Regions from separate parts of the Homo sapiens genome. Here all the other regions are linked to region 4. Evidence: promoter capture Hi-C in 16 types of primary human blood cells and fetal thymus (Javierre and others, 2016). All regions are on one chromosome and are shown on one strand. The core of a region is centred on a gene start or on the middle of the fragment in contact, and the rest is flanking DNA. Distances in the headings are between cores, read along the strand shown. Region 1 overlaps SLC13A2 (solute carrier family 13 member 2). Region 2 overlaps SUPT6H (SPT6 homolog, histone chaperone and transcription elongation factor). Region 3 overlaps UNC119 (unc-119 lipid binding chaperone). Region 4 holds the start of RSKR (ribosomal protein S6 kinase related). Region 5 overlaps FOXN1 (forkhead box N1).

The links. The method cuts DNA at HindIII sites, captures the fragments that hold promoters and counts their contacts. A CHiCAGO score of 5 or more calls a contact.
Region 1: a contact is called between a fragment that was not itself captured here and the fragment with the promoter of RSKR in region 4, in 14 of 17 cell types (naive B cells, total B cells, naive CD4 T cells and 11 more). The highest score is 18.0, in naive B cells.
Region 2: a fragment that was not itself captured here is called in contact with the fragment with the promoter of RSKR in region 4 in 2 of 17 cell types (M1 macrophages and endothelial precursors); the score reaches 6.7 in M1 macrophages.
Region 3: a contact is called between a fragment that was not itself captured here and the fragment with the promoter of RSKR in region 4, in 3 of 17 cell types (megakaryocytes, total B cells and naive B cells). The highest score is 6.0, in megakaryocytes.
Region 5: a contact is called between a fragment that was not itself captured here and the fragment with the promoter of RSKR in region 4, in 1 of 17 cell types (naive B cells). The highest score is 6.7, in naive B cells.

What each region holds. Positions count from the first base shown.
Region 1 is chr17:28,493,238-28,496,270 of GRCh38, forward strand. It overlaps SLC13A2 (solute carrier family 13 member 2), which reads left to right. Exons shown (of 12, transcript NM_003984.4): 7 at 334-552; 8 at 780-868; 9 at 1,154-1,275; 10 at 2,418-2,579. Among named protein-coding and RNA genes, the nearest start is that of FOXN1, 12 kb to the right of the region's middle. The HindIII fragment of the contact is 7,617 bases long and covers 1-3,033 here.
Region 2 is chr17:28,702,281-28,705,143 of GRCh38, forward strand. It overlaps SUPT6H (SPT6 homolog, histone chaperone and transcription elongation factor), which reads left to right. Exons shown (of 37, transcript NM_003170.5): 37 at 1-399. PROCA1 (protein interacting with cyclin A1) reads right to left here. Exons shown (of 5, transcript NM_001366301.1): 3 at 2,428-2,563; 4 at 2,027-2,155; 5 at 917-1,932. The coding sequence ends at 1,278. Among named protein-coding and RNA genes, the nearest start is that of PROCA1, 8.2 kb to the right of the region's middle. The HindIII fragment of the contact is 5,760 bases long and covers 1-2,863 here.
Region 3 is chr17:28,547,042-28,550,170 of GRCh38, forward strand. UNC119 (unc-119 lipid binding chaperone) reads right to left here. Exons shown (of 5, transcript NM_005148.4): 2 at 1,551-1,664; 3 at 958-1,060; 4 at 636-808; 5 at 1-368. The coding sequence ends at 256. Among named protein-coding and RNA genes, the nearest start is that of UNC119, 4.0 kb to the right of the region's middle. RefSeq lists enhancers at 1-730, 568-677, 698-747, 731-1,567 and a silencer at 3,100-3,129. The HindIII fragment of the contact is 1,645 bases long and covers 723-2,367 here.
Region 4 is chr17:28,612,785-28,615,529 of GRCh38, forward strand. It overlaps RSKR (ribosomal protein S6 kinase related), which reads right to left and starts at 1,401. Exons shown (of 12, transcript NM_001174103.2): 1 at 1,303-1,401; 2 at 656-904; 3 at 478-561; 4 at 294-362. The coding sequence starts at 1,377. It overlaps BLTP2 (bridge-like lipid transfer protein family member 2), which reads right to left. Exons shown (of 39, transcript NM_014680.5): 39 at 1,662-2,462. The coding sequence ends at 2,280. The region is part of intron 2 of SPAG5-AS1 (SPAG5 antisense RNA 1); the gene reads left to right. The HindIII fragment of the contact is 13,614 bases long and covers 1-2,607 here.
Region 5 is chr17:28,509,719-28,512,753 of GRCh38, forward strand. All of the region lies in intron 1 of FOXN1 (forkhead box N1), which reads left to right. Among named protein-coding and RNA genes, the nearest start is that of FOXN1, 4.9 kb to the left of the region's middle. The HindIII fragment of the contact is 2,081 bases long and covers 348-2,428 here.

The sequences.
Region 1 (3,033 bases), core at 222-2,721, 120 kb before region 4:
GGAGGAGAAGAGCTGTGAGCCAGGGCAGGAAGAAGTCCCAGGGTCTGAGCTGCTAGGTCCTCCTCACCCTGGGCAAGGGAGGGTTCAGCACCATAGAACCCCTGGAGGAAAAGGGGCTCAATGGGGCAGGGCCAAGCATGGAGAATAAGCAAGAACTATGGCCTCTAAAAGTCTTCTGCTCCTCCTCCAGAACCTCAGGCGGAGCTGGGGCCTGAGTGTAGTGACCCTGAGATGCCCTCTGTGGGCCTCAGCCTTTAGATGGTAGGCACTCAGAGCCCCTTGCTCCCTGCTGGAGCAGGCCCCCCACGAGCTGCCCCGTCCCTCTGCCTGCAGCTTCCGGAAGAACTTTGGCATTGGGGAAAAGATGCAGGAGCAACAGCAGGCAGCCTACTGCGTCATCCAGACCGAGCACAGGCTGCTGGGCCCCATGACCTTTGCAGAAAAGGCCATCAGCATCCTATTCGTCATCCTGGTGCTGCTCTGGTTCACCCGGGAGCCGGGCTTTTTTCTTGGCTGGGGCAATTTGGCTTTTCCCAATGCCAAGGGGGAGAGGTGAGAGTTGCAGGGGTTGGGAGGAGGACACATCTGGGGCTCACATGCTCGGGAAGGAGGGAAGGGTATAGGGCCCCCATTGCAGAACAGGAGGTAACACTTGGTGGGGGATGAAGGTTCCCCAGGCTTGTCTATGGGAGAGGCTCATCTCCACCACCCTCCACCCTGTGGCCCTGAGCAACCCCAAGCGGCTAACCCAGCCCTCCCCGCGCCCCCTCCACCAACAGCATGGTGTCCGATGGGACAGTGGCCATCTTCATCGGCATAATTATGTTCATCATACCCTCCAAGTTCCCAGGGCTGACCCAGGACCCAGGTAAGCACCTGGACTGGGGCAGGGAAGGGTCTCCGGGCAGCCCCTGCCTTCAAGTATGTAATGTACCTTCCACCACACTTGGCAGGAGTAGGCAAAGCCCAGAAAGGCTGGAGCGACTTGCCAAGGGCACAGGGACTCGGAGACAAAGTTGAGATGTTGCAGAACTGAGGGTCCCCTCCTGCACGCGTTAAGCTCCAAAAGGGACCCACACAGGGAGCCCGCAAATGGAGAGGGGAAAGGCCTGTTTGTTCTTTGGTGACCCATCCTTCTCTGCTTGGGAAGTAGAAAACCCAGGGAAGCTGAAGGCCCCTCTTGGCCTCCTCGACTGGAAGACGGTGAACCAGAAGATGCCGTGGAATATCGTGTTATTGCTGGGTGGTGGCTATGCCCTGGCCAAGGGCAGTGAGGTGAGAGGCCCCCAGCCCCCTCCTCAGCCTGTGTGAGGGTGTCTCTGTGGCAGGGAGAGAGGGGGCCCTGCTTCTGTCCCACAGAGGGGAGACCTGGTCCCCACGTAGGAGCCTCTCGGGTAGGCAGAGCCTTTGCAGCAGCTGGGAAGACTTAGGTTAGAGCCCTCATGTGGGAGGAAGAAACACAAGCCCTAGGGACCTCTTTGTTCAGTTCTCAAAGTCCAAGGGAAGGCAGGATTCTCTGGTGGGCAGAGCCTGTTCTCAGAGACAAATGCCATCCCACCCCAGCCCTTTGCCCGCTGCCAGAGCACACAGTAGCATCAGCACCAAAGTAATTGGGGGTTGTGTTGACGCGGTCTGCCCTCCGCAGCCACCAGGGGGCACCATGATCACACCCACCCAGGCTCTGGGGACCAGAACATCTTTCCCCAGAGCCTCCATCCAAAAGAGGGAAATCCCTGACACGGCATCCCTGGGCCTCCGTGTTCTGGCTCAAACAGAAGGTGGCTGCCCAGGTCAGGGATCGGTGCAGGGGACTCCTGGGTCTGTGGCATGTTCATCCACTGACTGTGCCCAGTCCTGTGCTAGGCGCTGGCCCCACTGAGCGAGATTAAGTCCCACCTTACAGCCTGGCATTCCAGACGTGGGAAGGCAAGACCTCGGAGCTCTTCTGACCCTGTGGACTGTCCCTGTCCTCCCATTAGCCTCTTGCAGCCTCTGTCAGGGTCCTCCCCCAACTTTCCCTCCCTGCCAGGAGCAAGGTTCCCTCTGCCCCAAGCCACTGGACTGGAAGGGGCAGGAAGAGGGCTAAGGTTGTCCAGGGACCTCCTGAGAGAGGTCAGGAAGGCAGGAGTCAGTGCGGTCAAAGATTTTTGCTCCCACCAAGCCCCAAATTTCCCAAGAAGGCCCTTTGGCCCCCTCCTAATTTCTCATCTGCCCCTTCTTCCCACACCCAGCTGTTCTTCAAGAGCAGGAAAGGGCACCCCTTGGTCTTAGCTGGGTCCTATCATCCCTTTAGAGCTGTCTTTGACTCTGAATACCAGGGAGATGTTAGCAGGAGCAGGAGCCTCATAGAGCCTCGGCAGAAGACTTGGGGGCCCAGGCAGCCTTGCCTCTCACATGCCATCCTCCTCTGCCCACAGCGATCGGGCCTGTCAGAGTGGCTGGGAAACAAGCTGACCCCACTGCAGAGTGTGCCAGCTCCAGCCATTGCCATCATCCTCTCCCTCCTGGTGGCCACCTTCACCGAGTGCACTAGCAACGTGGCCACCACTACGATCTTCCTGCCCATCCTAGCCTCCATGGTGAGCTGGCCCTCAGAAACACCTCCTCCAGGCAGCCCGCCTGCCTGCCCCACCAGGGGTTCTGCCTGCTGGGCAGAGTATCCTGTCTTTGCACCTCCTCTTTTCCTTTTCCTGAAGAGGACCCCTGAGTTTCCATCCTTCTCCAGGCTCTTGAGCCACCTTGGGCCCCAAGGCGCTTTGGCCCCTGACTCACCCCGTCCCTCATGATGTCACCCCTGGAGTATCCTGATGGGGATCCTGGTGGCCTCACCCACCTCCCCACCCCAGTCCCTGTTCTGGTCATTCCTGAGGTGACGGGGTGAAATTGCTCCCCGAAGCGTCCCAAGCCCCTTCCTCCCCAGGCGTGTTCCTGCAGCCTTTGATGACACCCCCGGAGCCCCTTTGAGATCAGTTTTATGGGCCCCTCCCCTCACCACACCCCACAAGGCAGGGCAGCACACTCATTCCCTCCAGA
Region 2 (2,863 bases), core at 195-2,694, 90 kb after region 4:
CTTTCAAAGCAGTGTTTGGAGCTCCAAGGACTCCCCTGACTCCCTCTTCTGATCCATCAGAGGCAAAGATTCATAGACTAGAGGCAGCTTCTACATCAGACTGCCTGGGGCACATCCCTGCTCTACTTCCCAGCCGGGTGACCCTGTGCCAGTTCCTGCTGCCTTTCAGCTGGCTTTCTTACCTGTAACATGGAGATAGTGATACCTGCCTCATCAGCTGCTGTGAGGACCAAGGCAGCGTGTGCAAGCTCCTTGGCCCAACGCCTGGTACGTCGCAAATGTTACCCGGTATTATTACACCCACTCACTCACCCACAGCACAGCTGCCCCATCCGCCCATGCCTGCTGGTCTTCTCTGGCACCCTGGAGAAAGGCCACAAGTAAATCTGGATTTCTCAACTTGAGCCTCTGCCGTTCATCTCTTCCCTTTTCCCAGCTGGGCCTTGGTCTCTTGCAAGCTCTCAGCAGTAAGGTGTTCCTGCCCCAGGATGGGGCCCTGCTCACCTGCTCCCCTCCAACACACTGGCCCTGGCCCTTTGTCCCTGCCCCACTGCATTTTTTGTTCTGAACTCCTGCCATCCCTGTTTCTGCACAAGGGCTTCGTCTCACAGCTCTGTGAGTCAATGCTGGGAGAGTGGGGCCTCTGGCTCCCTTTCCTTTGCTTGGGGCTCAGCAGAGAAGTCAGAAAAGGCCACTGCTGCCCAGACGTGGCACACTCCCTCCCCTTGTTTTTCTTCATCAAGATCTGGGGGAAGGGGCCAGCTCTGCCAGGAACTCAAGTCAGCTCCCTTCAGCACAAAAGGGCTACAAGGGAGGAGCTAGACCACCAGCTGGGAAGGTCAGTCTCTGGTAGTACCACGAGCACCTTCTGCAGAGCCACTTAGAGGAGGGAAAGGCCAGGCACAGTGGCACAGAGTGGGTTAAAAAGTTCCGTTTATTGGGGGTATCGCTGCAGACAGTACTGCCTGTCCCAGAAGTGGATTTCACACAGACCAGTCTCTCGCAGCAGAGAGGGGAAGCCCTCCTTCCCACCCCAGATACACTCTTCCACCTTGTCCTAGCAGGTAGGAAGAAATAGGGCTGTGCCCCTTCCTTTCCCTCCCACCTGCCTTCCCATGGGCTTCCTTTGTGAAAGCTGGATTGCCTTTGAGAAACCCCTGCAGCCCTGAGCCCACCCCTTGCCCCGCAAGAAACAGCCAGGTTGGAGGGAGAGAACAGCAGCAGAGGGCCAGCCACAGGCTCGATGGCATTTATTCTGCACCCTGACCACCCTGGCCTCAACTGAGGTTGGGGTTTGATCCTGGGGGAGATTTTCTCTTGTTTACCTTCCTGGCTTGTGAGGGCTTTGCCCCTGTCTTTTTGGCCTGGACTGTGTTCTCTCTCTTCCTGGGCGATGATGATTCCACAATATCCTCGCTGGACAGTTCTCCCTGCCCCCGGCCATTGTAACTGTCCTCGCTCTCCAGCTCTTCCCGGCTTTCTGGGCTGGACTCGGACATCCTGGCCAGCTGTCTTGCGCTTAATGATCGGCTCACGTCTGGCGGGGAAGGCTCCAATTTAACCGGGCTTTTCTTCTTAGTCAACTGGCCTTTCTTGGCTTTTTTCTTCAGCTTTGCCTTCTCATCCATCTCCTCCTTGTCTTTCTCTTTTTCCTTTTTCTTCTTTACCTTCTTGATCACCTTGCTGCCCTGACCCTTCCCTGTGGGGCTCTCAGAGCGCCAGATGGTGATGGGCGCTGTGGAGTCAGGGGTACCAGTGGCCATGCTGGTGCCTAGGTCAGGGGAGGCGGTGGCGGGCCCCACCTGTGTCGGGATGGGGGGCTTGCTTTCCTCCTCCTCCTCTTCCTCTTCTTCATTTAGATCATCTGCCCCACACTCATGGTAGAGTGGATGGTGGATCACTGCCACAGAGACAGGTCTGTAGCTTTTGCACCTGGGAGAAGGGACAACGGGGGAAGTTTGACAGAGAGTGGGGGGCAGTGCCCTGTAGAGGCCCCTTCCCCATCAGCCCACCGGGGCTCACTCACCAGCCATACCGGAATCGCTCCACATGCTCCTCCTCCGGTGTGAGCTCAAAGCAAGGGGACTCGATGACATGGGAGCAGGTTGGGCCCGCGCCCCGGGAGCTGCTGCTATCCTCTGAAGAGTCCTTCAGCCTGCCACACATGGGACTCTCAGCCTGGCTCCCATCACTCCCCCAGGGACCCAGAGCCAGAAGCCTGAGGGACAGTGGGCTTCCGCTGGGCCTGCCTCAGGCCAACAGACCTCCTCCCCATTTCTCTTAGAGCAGAGCAAGGTGTGCAGAGCTGGGACTGGGCTGGCAGCACCAATTCAAAGCTGAAGAGGCAAACCAAAGGTTGAAGGGGAGACCACAATGAAAGTTCGGACCTGGCTCTGCCATGGGTCCCCCAAGGGGGCGGGCCCTCACCTAGAATTACAGTTGCAGTGGTTGACAGAGTGTAGGTGCAGGCTGTGGCGGACACAGTCAGAGGCGAAAGGGTAGATGATGTGCCCAGTGCACTGCTTGTGTCTCCAGCAGCACTTGTCAGGCTCCTTGCAGTCACCTGAGGGGGCAGGAGTCTGGGTCATCAGTAGCAGCCGCAGACCTCTGGGTCTTCCCACAGCTCAAGCTAAAACCTCACCAAATTCACCTGCCACCACCAGCTGTCCACCCCAAGAAGTGTTTCTGCTTCAGTAGTAGTAACTTGGCCGCAGAGTAACCCCATGTCCCAGCAAAGTGTCTGGTTCCATGTCTGATACACAGGAGACCCTTATCAAGCCCCCTGCAGTCCTGTGATTCCCTGTTACTTCTGTCCTCTCCCTCCAGTGGGAGGCCTCCACCAGCTCCTGCCTGCCCCTCAACC
Region 3 (3,129 bases), core at 295-2,794, 66 kb before region 4:
GACTGCTCCTCTCACAGGCCTTCCTAGACGTGGAGGCAAACAGCCTCCCTACGACCCCACCCCATGTAGCAGGCCGCATGGGCTTCATGGGCTTGACTGGGGACACCAGGTACCCTTCCTCCCAACATTGACTCAGGGTCCGGAGCTCCTGGAGAACTCCCCAAGCAGAGGACTTGGGGTTGAGGGGTGAGCGTTGGGGAGGTCACAGCTCCCAGCCCAGAACTGGAGCCTCCTGGGGTCAGGGCAGCCGTGGGGTCAGGGTGTCCCGCTGTAGGAATAGTCTGCTTTATTGTGCATCACCAGCCGGTCATCCACGAAGTAGAAGCTGTCAGACTGGGTCTCATACGGGTGGCGGATCATCTCGCTGACTGCAAGAGAGGCCCAGCCAGGCCGGGCAAAGGTCAGGAGCTTGAGTCCCGCCACTGCAGGGGCTTCAGGACTGGGGTACAGGGACAGCCAAACAGCCTGAAATATCCCCAGCCTCTTTCTCTACGGATGATATGGGAATGGTGGCAGACACAGAAGAGCCCCAGGGTGGGGAGAAATGGGATCAGACCCACAAGTCCCTCTCCCTCCCGCAGCTCAGTCTCTAGACGCCCCCACTTCCCCACTCCCAGAAGACCCTGCCCGCGCACTCAGCTCCTCGGAGAGAGGGGGGAAGTCGTAAATGTGCTCGCAGGTGTTCTTGCTGCTGGGGATGCAGAAGCCAAAGTGGAAGTCGAAGCTTTTGAGTAGCTGGTTGCGGAAGTAGTGCCTCTCGATCATGCGGAAGTTGTTGACAGGCTTGTCTCCCACTGTGAACTCCACCCTGAGCAAGAAAAGGAGGCAGGGCTAAGTCTGTCCTTGAAGTCAACTAGCCAGCCAGGCTCAGGACAGGCCACCCCTACGAGAGGCTGAGAAGGGCCCACTCACACCCTCTCCCTCACCCCCACCACCACCCATAGCCCAGCGACTCACGTGGCTCCCACCTGCCTCAGGCGGAGGAAGGCAGGCGTGAACTGGTAGCGGACAAAGCGCCCAGCATTGGGGTCCAGGTCCCGCCGGTTGATGGGCAACCGTTCTGCAATGTACCCCAGCTGGGGCTCAGTGGGCTTCAGGCTGGGCCCTTGTCCACCCAGGGTTCTACCCTTGGGTCCCCATCTATCTGATTTTTTTTAAACTCCCCAAGAAATTCCGGGGCACACTGAGGGCTCAGACCATTGGCCAAATAGTGCCACCTAGGGGTTCTAGGTCTGCATGTTCCCAATCGCCACTGTGCTTCCCCGGGCCACAGGATGCTGAGGCCTGGGACCCGTAGGACTGCAGTTCCCAGAGAGCCCTGCAGAGGGCAGGTTGGCAGGGACCGAAGGGGTAGGGCTGACCTCGCAAGATGTCCAGCCTCAGAAACATATGGGAAGGAAAAGAAAGGGCCCCCCTGCCTGCAGACTCCTGAGAATGCTGGGGTCCAAGCCCCAGCTCTGTGGACTCCTCTGTGGCCCAAGGATTCCCTGGGCAGCCCACTCCGCAGCTCCTATCTGCCTCCCCATCAATGGCCCACCCAGCCCACTCACCTGAGACTGGGGGCTTCTTGATTTCAAAGAGGACAGTGCCTGAGTCCATGTCCCGAATCTTAAACCTGACAAAGTCGATCTTGTAGATATTCTCCTCAGGGGAGCAGAGGTAGTCTAGGGGAAACAGGCAGCTGAGCAAGGAAGGGGCCGCAAAGCCCCTGCTGCCAGGTCAGCTTGTGTGGGACCCCAGAGTAGCTACCATCTTCTCATCCCTGGGATCACTGCCCTCTGGAAAGAGGGACCTCAGTCCCTGCCCTTGGGGTACACCCCCAGTGTGGAAGAGACATAACTCCGCCATGGGGATCTAACAGGGGATAAGGAGTGCCATCCTACTGGTCTCTGGGGGCCAGGGAAGGGCAGGGCAGAGAAGGGTAGAGGACAAGGCCACCTCCTGAACACTCTCTCTCCCACTCTGGAGTTGAGGGTCCTCATTCTGGCCTCCGCTCTGCCAAGGCTGGCTAGATGACTTTGGGAGAATTAGGTATCCAGCCTGGTGGGAGCCTCTCTTCTCATATGGGAACAACTTCCTGCAGTCTGACCTGTCTCTTCTACTGCAACTCAGTGTATCAACTTCTCTGGTACCCTGCCTTTGAGAACCACCTGTAAAGGGGGCCACACAGCTCTGTCTTGGGAGAGTCACTGTCCTTCTCTGGAGGATACTCCTACCCTCACCCCACAGCTGCCCCTGGCATGACATCTAGATGTATCAGGTGAGGCTGATGTTAAGGGGACTTTCCCTGATATGGGTGGGGCTGGGGCAGGTGAACAACCCCTTCCCTATTCCTCCTCTCCTCCAAACCCCCTCCTCTCAGTAAGAAGCTTACACCAGCCCAGCTCCCTTAAGCAGCTTAACCAAAGCTCTGCTGACTCAAGCCCAGAGCCTGGGATATGGCAGGTGGGAGGAGGCCAACTTTGCTCTCATCCTTTGTTGATCTCCAAATGGGAGGAAGTCTTAGCAAGCAGAGAGAACCCCCTTAGAGGTCATTTACGCAGCCCTGGCTATGAGCCACCACCATGGAGAAAGTAGTCCTGGACCCCCATAGAGAAGAACACAGGCTAGGCCAGGAGGAGGGTGTGGCAGGTGCAGCAGTGGGTGTGGAAGGGGTAAGGGGAGTCCTCAGGCCCAGGAAGGGAACCAAGAACAGTGGGAGGCCCTGCCTGAGGAAGCTCAGGGAGCTACAGGGCCTGATCTAACCCTCACAGCTCTTGCAGCAGCAACTTCAAGTGCTCAGGGAGGCCCTGGCAACAAAAAGAGCTGAGAGGTGCAGGGAGGGACTCGTGCTGTCAGCCTGCACAGCATCACATCCTCCCCTGGTGGCCCACAGAGGCCTGGAAATCACCCTCCAGGCCCCTGGGCCACCTCCTATTCCTCTGGGGCAGGAACAGGAAGTGAATATAAAGTCATTTTCTCTTCCCCAGGTCTGCTTCTTCCCCAAGCCTGACGCTGTCCCCTCCAGGAAGCCCTCCTGGCAGCCATCTGGTACCCTGGGGCCCAGCATGGACTTTATACAGCTTGGGGAAGAGGCAGGGCCCTGAGTCTACTACAGCCCACATGTGGGGTGGGGAGAGAATGGAAGTG
Region 4 (2,745 bases), core at 151-2,650:
CTGCTGCCTCACCTCTCAGTTCAGAGGAACTCAATATTTGGAACTGACTATCTGGTAATCCTAGAACCAGCAAATACTAAGGAATACACTGGGACATGCTTCAGAGATTTCCCTAGTAGGACATGGGAAAACTGTGTTGAGAGCTGATACTTTTCCCAGGATCTACTTTAGTGTTAAACTAGGCTGAAGCAGATGGATGAGGCAGAACCAGGAAAAGAAGGTGGGCAAGAAAGGTACTTTCCCTACCTGTGGCCTAGCTCTTCCCACAATCCTTTCCAGGACTCTGTGCATACCTGGATGCTAACCTCCTCTTTGCACTGCCTCACGGTATCCCTCTGTAGGACCTTTACCTTGGGCACCACCTATAAAAGGAGAGTAGTGATGACTCATAGATAGTGCTATTGAATTGTTTATTCCTCCCAACCTCTCTGGAATCAAGATTGGAAACAGAGACTAATGTGGTATCTACGCCCCTACCTTCACTGCAAATACAGCTTTCTGGGTGCAATCTAGCACCTTGAGGACAGTTCCAAAGGAGCCTTTAGCCACGAGGCCTAAAATCTGTACAGAGGAATGGAGAACAGGCCAGTTGAGACTGGTCATTTTTAACTTCTCCCAAAGACTGAGACCCCACTCAGGGATTCCACTGACTTACCTTCAGCTGCTGCTGCCCCCTAATGGGCCTAATGGGAAACTCTGGTAGAAAGAGGTTGATGAACTGAGGCACTGGCCACTCTGGCAGAGGCTTCTCTACCAGTACTGGGGCTGGCTTTAGGGATTCCTGGTGCAGATAGTGGTGCCCCCGTAGTTCCCAGAGTTCTTCCAGATCTGACCTGATGGTTCCCAAACCTGTCCAGAGGCTCTTCCAGCCTCGGGCCCAGGGACCCCGGATGTTGCCACCCTGCTGAGAACCAAGGGAGCCACTCTAAACTTTCTGCTCCTGAGGCATAGCAGGTTCCACCCATCTTACTAGGCACTCCCTCCCCTTAAGTCTCAACCCCTAGAGGTACATTTTTGAGCATGAGGCAAAATTCCCATTACCCTTGCTTTGTGCTAAGCCCCAGATTTCCTGGGCACAATTCAAATCCTCTAGGAAAATAATTGTTGGACATTTTCACCATGACGCATTAAGAGTACAGCCTGCACCTCAGTATTGGGCTGTGATGCTTTCATAGTACAGCCTCCCTGCCCCACCCCCACATTGGGTAATCACTTCCATGCTCCTAACCAGGAACTTCCCAGGACTCAAGCCCATGTCTCCCTCTCCTCCCCTCAGTAGGCTGCCAGAGCCCCACAGCCTACCTTGTGAGGGACAGCCACCCGGGTGTGTTCCCCCTGCTGGGTGTGCTGCCCCTGCCGACAGCTTACTGCTCCCATTCCCAGCCTCTGCCTCCTCTCTCTGCTAAATCTGCTGTCCCAGTTATATAAGCAATTCCTCTCCCTGATGCTGCGTGACACGAGCCCCGCCTCTTCCAGTCTGCAGAAACCCATCAGCATGGGGCCAGAGTCACACTAGGACTAGAAATTTCTGTGATACAGCTTCAGGGCAGAGGAAGGAAGGGGCCACCCTCAGAGTGGCAGCTGCAGGATGTTCTGGGTTGATGAGGGAGGAATACACAGATTGAATGCATGCACTCAACACACACACACAAAAATGAGCATCAAATTTAAAATATCTTTTTTTTTCTCTTTAAATCATTTTGCCATTCTCCAGGGTATATCCTACGGGGAAGGGTAGGGGACCCATGGCCAGCCCTGGCTCCTACTGCCATCCTCCCAAGTGAACTTAGCACAGAGACTGGGGAGGGGTTGACCCCCACTCCAGAACACCAATACCTCTTTCAAACATGACAGTGGAGTGAGGATCAGAGGATCAGCCCCCTCCCGTTTCCTGGCACAGAGGAAGGACAGTTACACTTAGAAATATATATATAATATATATATATTTATATATGTCTATAAAAATTTATCACACTTGATCAGGACTATCCCCCTACCCTTTCACTTGACCCCAAGGGAATAGGGTCCTGCCCTGGGCCCATTCCCTGGGTCTTGCTCTCTTGTTGCCTCTCTGGCCCTGAGCCTGATCAGTGTGAGACAGAACTCAGCATTACTGTCCACCATGCCCTGCAGCGAACAGACCAGGTGCTGAAGAGTGATGCCTATGGGCTCTGACACCCACAAATCCTCGTGGATAACGGGAAGCCCCTCCCACCCCACAAGTCCCTGGAGCCTGAGCCAGAGTCAGATCCTGTACTGCAGCCACTCGAATCGCCAAATCATTTGCGCCTGCCAAAGATGGACTTCTTGCCAGGGTTCTTGTCGCCCACACTTAAACCAATGAGGAGCCGGGCTTTCTCCTCCTCTTCCTGCTGTTGCATGTTCAGGTCCGATTTAGTTTCTAGCTTTCCCCGGACCTCAGAGCCTGTTGCAGACTTCAGCCTTAGCTTCTCTTTGATTACCTGGCAGATTGGAGAGGAGTAAAAGAAAATGTAAATATTAGTGGGCAGGCAGAATAAATCAAAATGAACCAAGACAATAAAGATTTATTAAACACATCCAAGGCACAATGGGGCAATTCACATACAATGGTCTCTGCTTTCAAGAAGCTTACAGTCTAATTATAACCCCTTCTAAACTTTAGGTTGTGTTAGCTCTCAGTTCCCTAAAATCAATGGTGCTATACGAAACACTCAGTAAACACTGAATTTAATAATCTGAGTGAGGTCATGGAGAGGGTAGGCA
Region 5 (3,035 bases), core at 138-2,637, 100 kb before region 4:
CCACACTGCGGGCATGTGGCAGTGAAGCGGGGATGGAGAGACACCCTCATAGAGCCCCAAAGCGGGGCCGGGGCAGGCTTTCTCAGGGGGCTGGGAGCGTAACTGATCCTATCAGGCATGGCGGGCCAAGGAAGAGGGGGCATGGAAGCAGGAGCAGGGATTTTTAGGGTTGATTAGGAGTGCGCATCCCCGGGTCTCTACCCTGCCTGTGGCCCTTGCTTAGTCAGCTCAGATTAATGGGGCCAGGGAGAGAATTCGCTGAATCGTGATCTCTTGGGGAACTTGACTGGAGAGCCAGCTGTGAGTCATGGAGAAAAGGGAACCTGTGCTCTCACAGCTACTCTAGAAGCTTCCAGGGGTAGGCAACCCTCCAGATCCTCCCATCCCCTTCCAGAATGCAACAGAAAGCCCACTGCAAGGTCTGACCCTCGCCCTCCACCCCATGCTCACAGGAGGATGCACTGTCAGTCAGCTCCAAATCCTGCCCTCATACACCCTCCGGGGCCTTCAGGGCTCCCCCCACTGCCTCTGACAAACTACAGCACAGAGACACACATACACACAGAGACACACACACACAGAGACACACACCCAGACACATGCACAGAGATACATACATGCACACACGCATACATATATACATACAGAGAGACACACACAGAGACACACACAGACACACGCGCACGCACACACACAGAATGAGAATGGGGTGCATCCCTGGAACCAGATTGCCTGGAGACAGTTGGAGGTCCCACTTACACTTGTAAATTCCATAGCCATGTCCCGGACTGCACCAGCCCATCAGTCTCGGAAGGCATAGAATGTACATGAGGAAGGACACACACACACACGCACACACACGCACACACACACACACACACACACACACACACACATCGCTGTGATCAGAAAACCCAATTATCAGACTCTGCACTTAGCACCCCTCCTCCACGCAGGCCCAGAGTGACCACAGCAGTCTTCACTGTCAGTGGGGGCAGTGTCCCCAGCTTCCTCTGGAGAGGGTTCCTGGAGCCCACGTTGGGCACCAAGAGCATGTGGCTTCATAGAGGTGGCTCTGCTTCTCTGTGCCTTCCCGCAAGCGTGGTCAATCTGCCTAAAGTGGGAAGGGTTTTGGAGAAAAAATTATTTGGGGTGGCAATGCCAAATCCAGTATGATCTGAGGGTGGTCAAGGGAGAAAGATGGCAGCTGGAGCCAAGGAGCTGGATGGGCTCAGGAAAATGCCCCCAGAGCCTGCCCCTTCTCCAGGGACATGATTAGGTGCTGAGAGCTGCTTCCCATAGCCCCAGCACCTGGAGGAAGGAGCAGCGCACAGATGCCTGCATAGCAGGGAACAATCTCTCCCACTGGTGGGACCTCGGTTTCCCCATCTGTCAGATAAAGAGGGGCTTGGGTGGGAGGGCCTCCCAGTGCACTTCTCACTTCAAGGCTTAGTAAGTTCAAGGAGATAACCACCTGCCCATCCCCTGTGCAAGATGGCATTGGGAGAGGAGGTGCACCAGTATGTATTTGCCTTGTACTAAATCTGTATTATTAGTAGTGGTGGCAGAATTAATATCCTTAATAATAGATTGGTATTAATGAGCAGTTCTGATAATGATATGTACAGAATGTGAGAGGCCCCTGGCCCAACGGACAGTGGGATCCTGGGCCATTTCTTTGCCCCCACTCAGGTGGACAGGCAAAGAGCGAGCGCACCAGCAGGACGAGGGCCCTCTTGACCATCCCCCTGGGGCACACCCCTAGGAAGGGCAGATGTTTGAAGGTAAAAAGATCTCACTCAGCCCCATCCCACTCCTGAAATCCTACAGGCCTGGGACCCCAGGGGAGGAGGCAGGGGCACCAGACAAGCTGGTGCTGGTTTAACTTCTGAGGATTTTGACATTCTGGTTCTCACTCGGTCCCCAGGACAGCCAGATGAGGTATGTAGGGCAAAGATGAGGACTCCATTTTATAAAGGAGGGAACAAGGTTTATTCTCATGACTAGCCCACACCGAGAGCAGAGCTGGGAAAGGACCCTCCTGCAGTCCTTGGTCGGGAGGACTCACTGTGAGGGAAAAGGGGGATTCTGTAGGGAAGCCAGGATCTGGGCTCAGTGAAGGCGTCCAGAGATTATAACGCCAGGTTACGGGGGAGGTGAGACCAAGCTCCAACATCCCTGTTGGTCTCACAGATCAAATCCTCTGCTGCCAATCACTGCCACAGCCCAACAACTCCAAAGCCAATTACCTACACAGCCCACAGGAGGCTGGGGGTGGGACCATCGGGCTCAGCCCTGGGTGACTTCATTACAGGGGTAGGACTTCCGGGCCACAGGGACCCAGAGCTAATGAGTGCTTAGAGGTCAGCCACTTCATCCCATACCCCAGCCCATTTCTCCATCCCCTTCAGCCAGTGTAGCTGGAGGAAGCTTGTTGAGGAGGGATGAAGGCAAGGCTTCACAATCTGTGCAAAAGCCTCCTGGTCCTTCACTCATGCCCCACCTCATCAGCCATTCTTTGGCCCTTATCACAGCTGGGCAGACTGAGGATTTCAGGGAACTTTCTTCTCTAGAAACCAATGTCTAAGGCCTCAGATCACTGCTTTCTGAACACTGCCCCCTGGAAGGATCAAGCAGGCAACAAGTTCCTCCTTCTCAAAAGTCCAGCTTTCCAGTCAAGCCCTGAGTGGTTCTAGGCCACCTTGTCCACCTCCAAGTCCTAGGTCAGGCCAGTTCTCACCATCAGACTCAGCCATGGCTTCAAAAAATCCCTGGGAATAGGTGAGCACCGTGGCATGCACTTTTAGTCTCATATACTCCAGAGGCTGAGGCGAGAGCCTAGGAGTTTGAGACCAGCCTGGGCAACAAAGCAAGACCCCATCTCTAGAACCTGGGGAAGGTGGAGGTGGGAGAACCTTCTCCTTAAACTGCCTGTCCAAGGGGGTTTTATGTTTTTGGAACTGGGAATTCCCCTCCCCCACTAACCTTGGCGGGGCAAGCTTGCTGACCTTGCTTCTGGGAGCAAGATGTTGGGG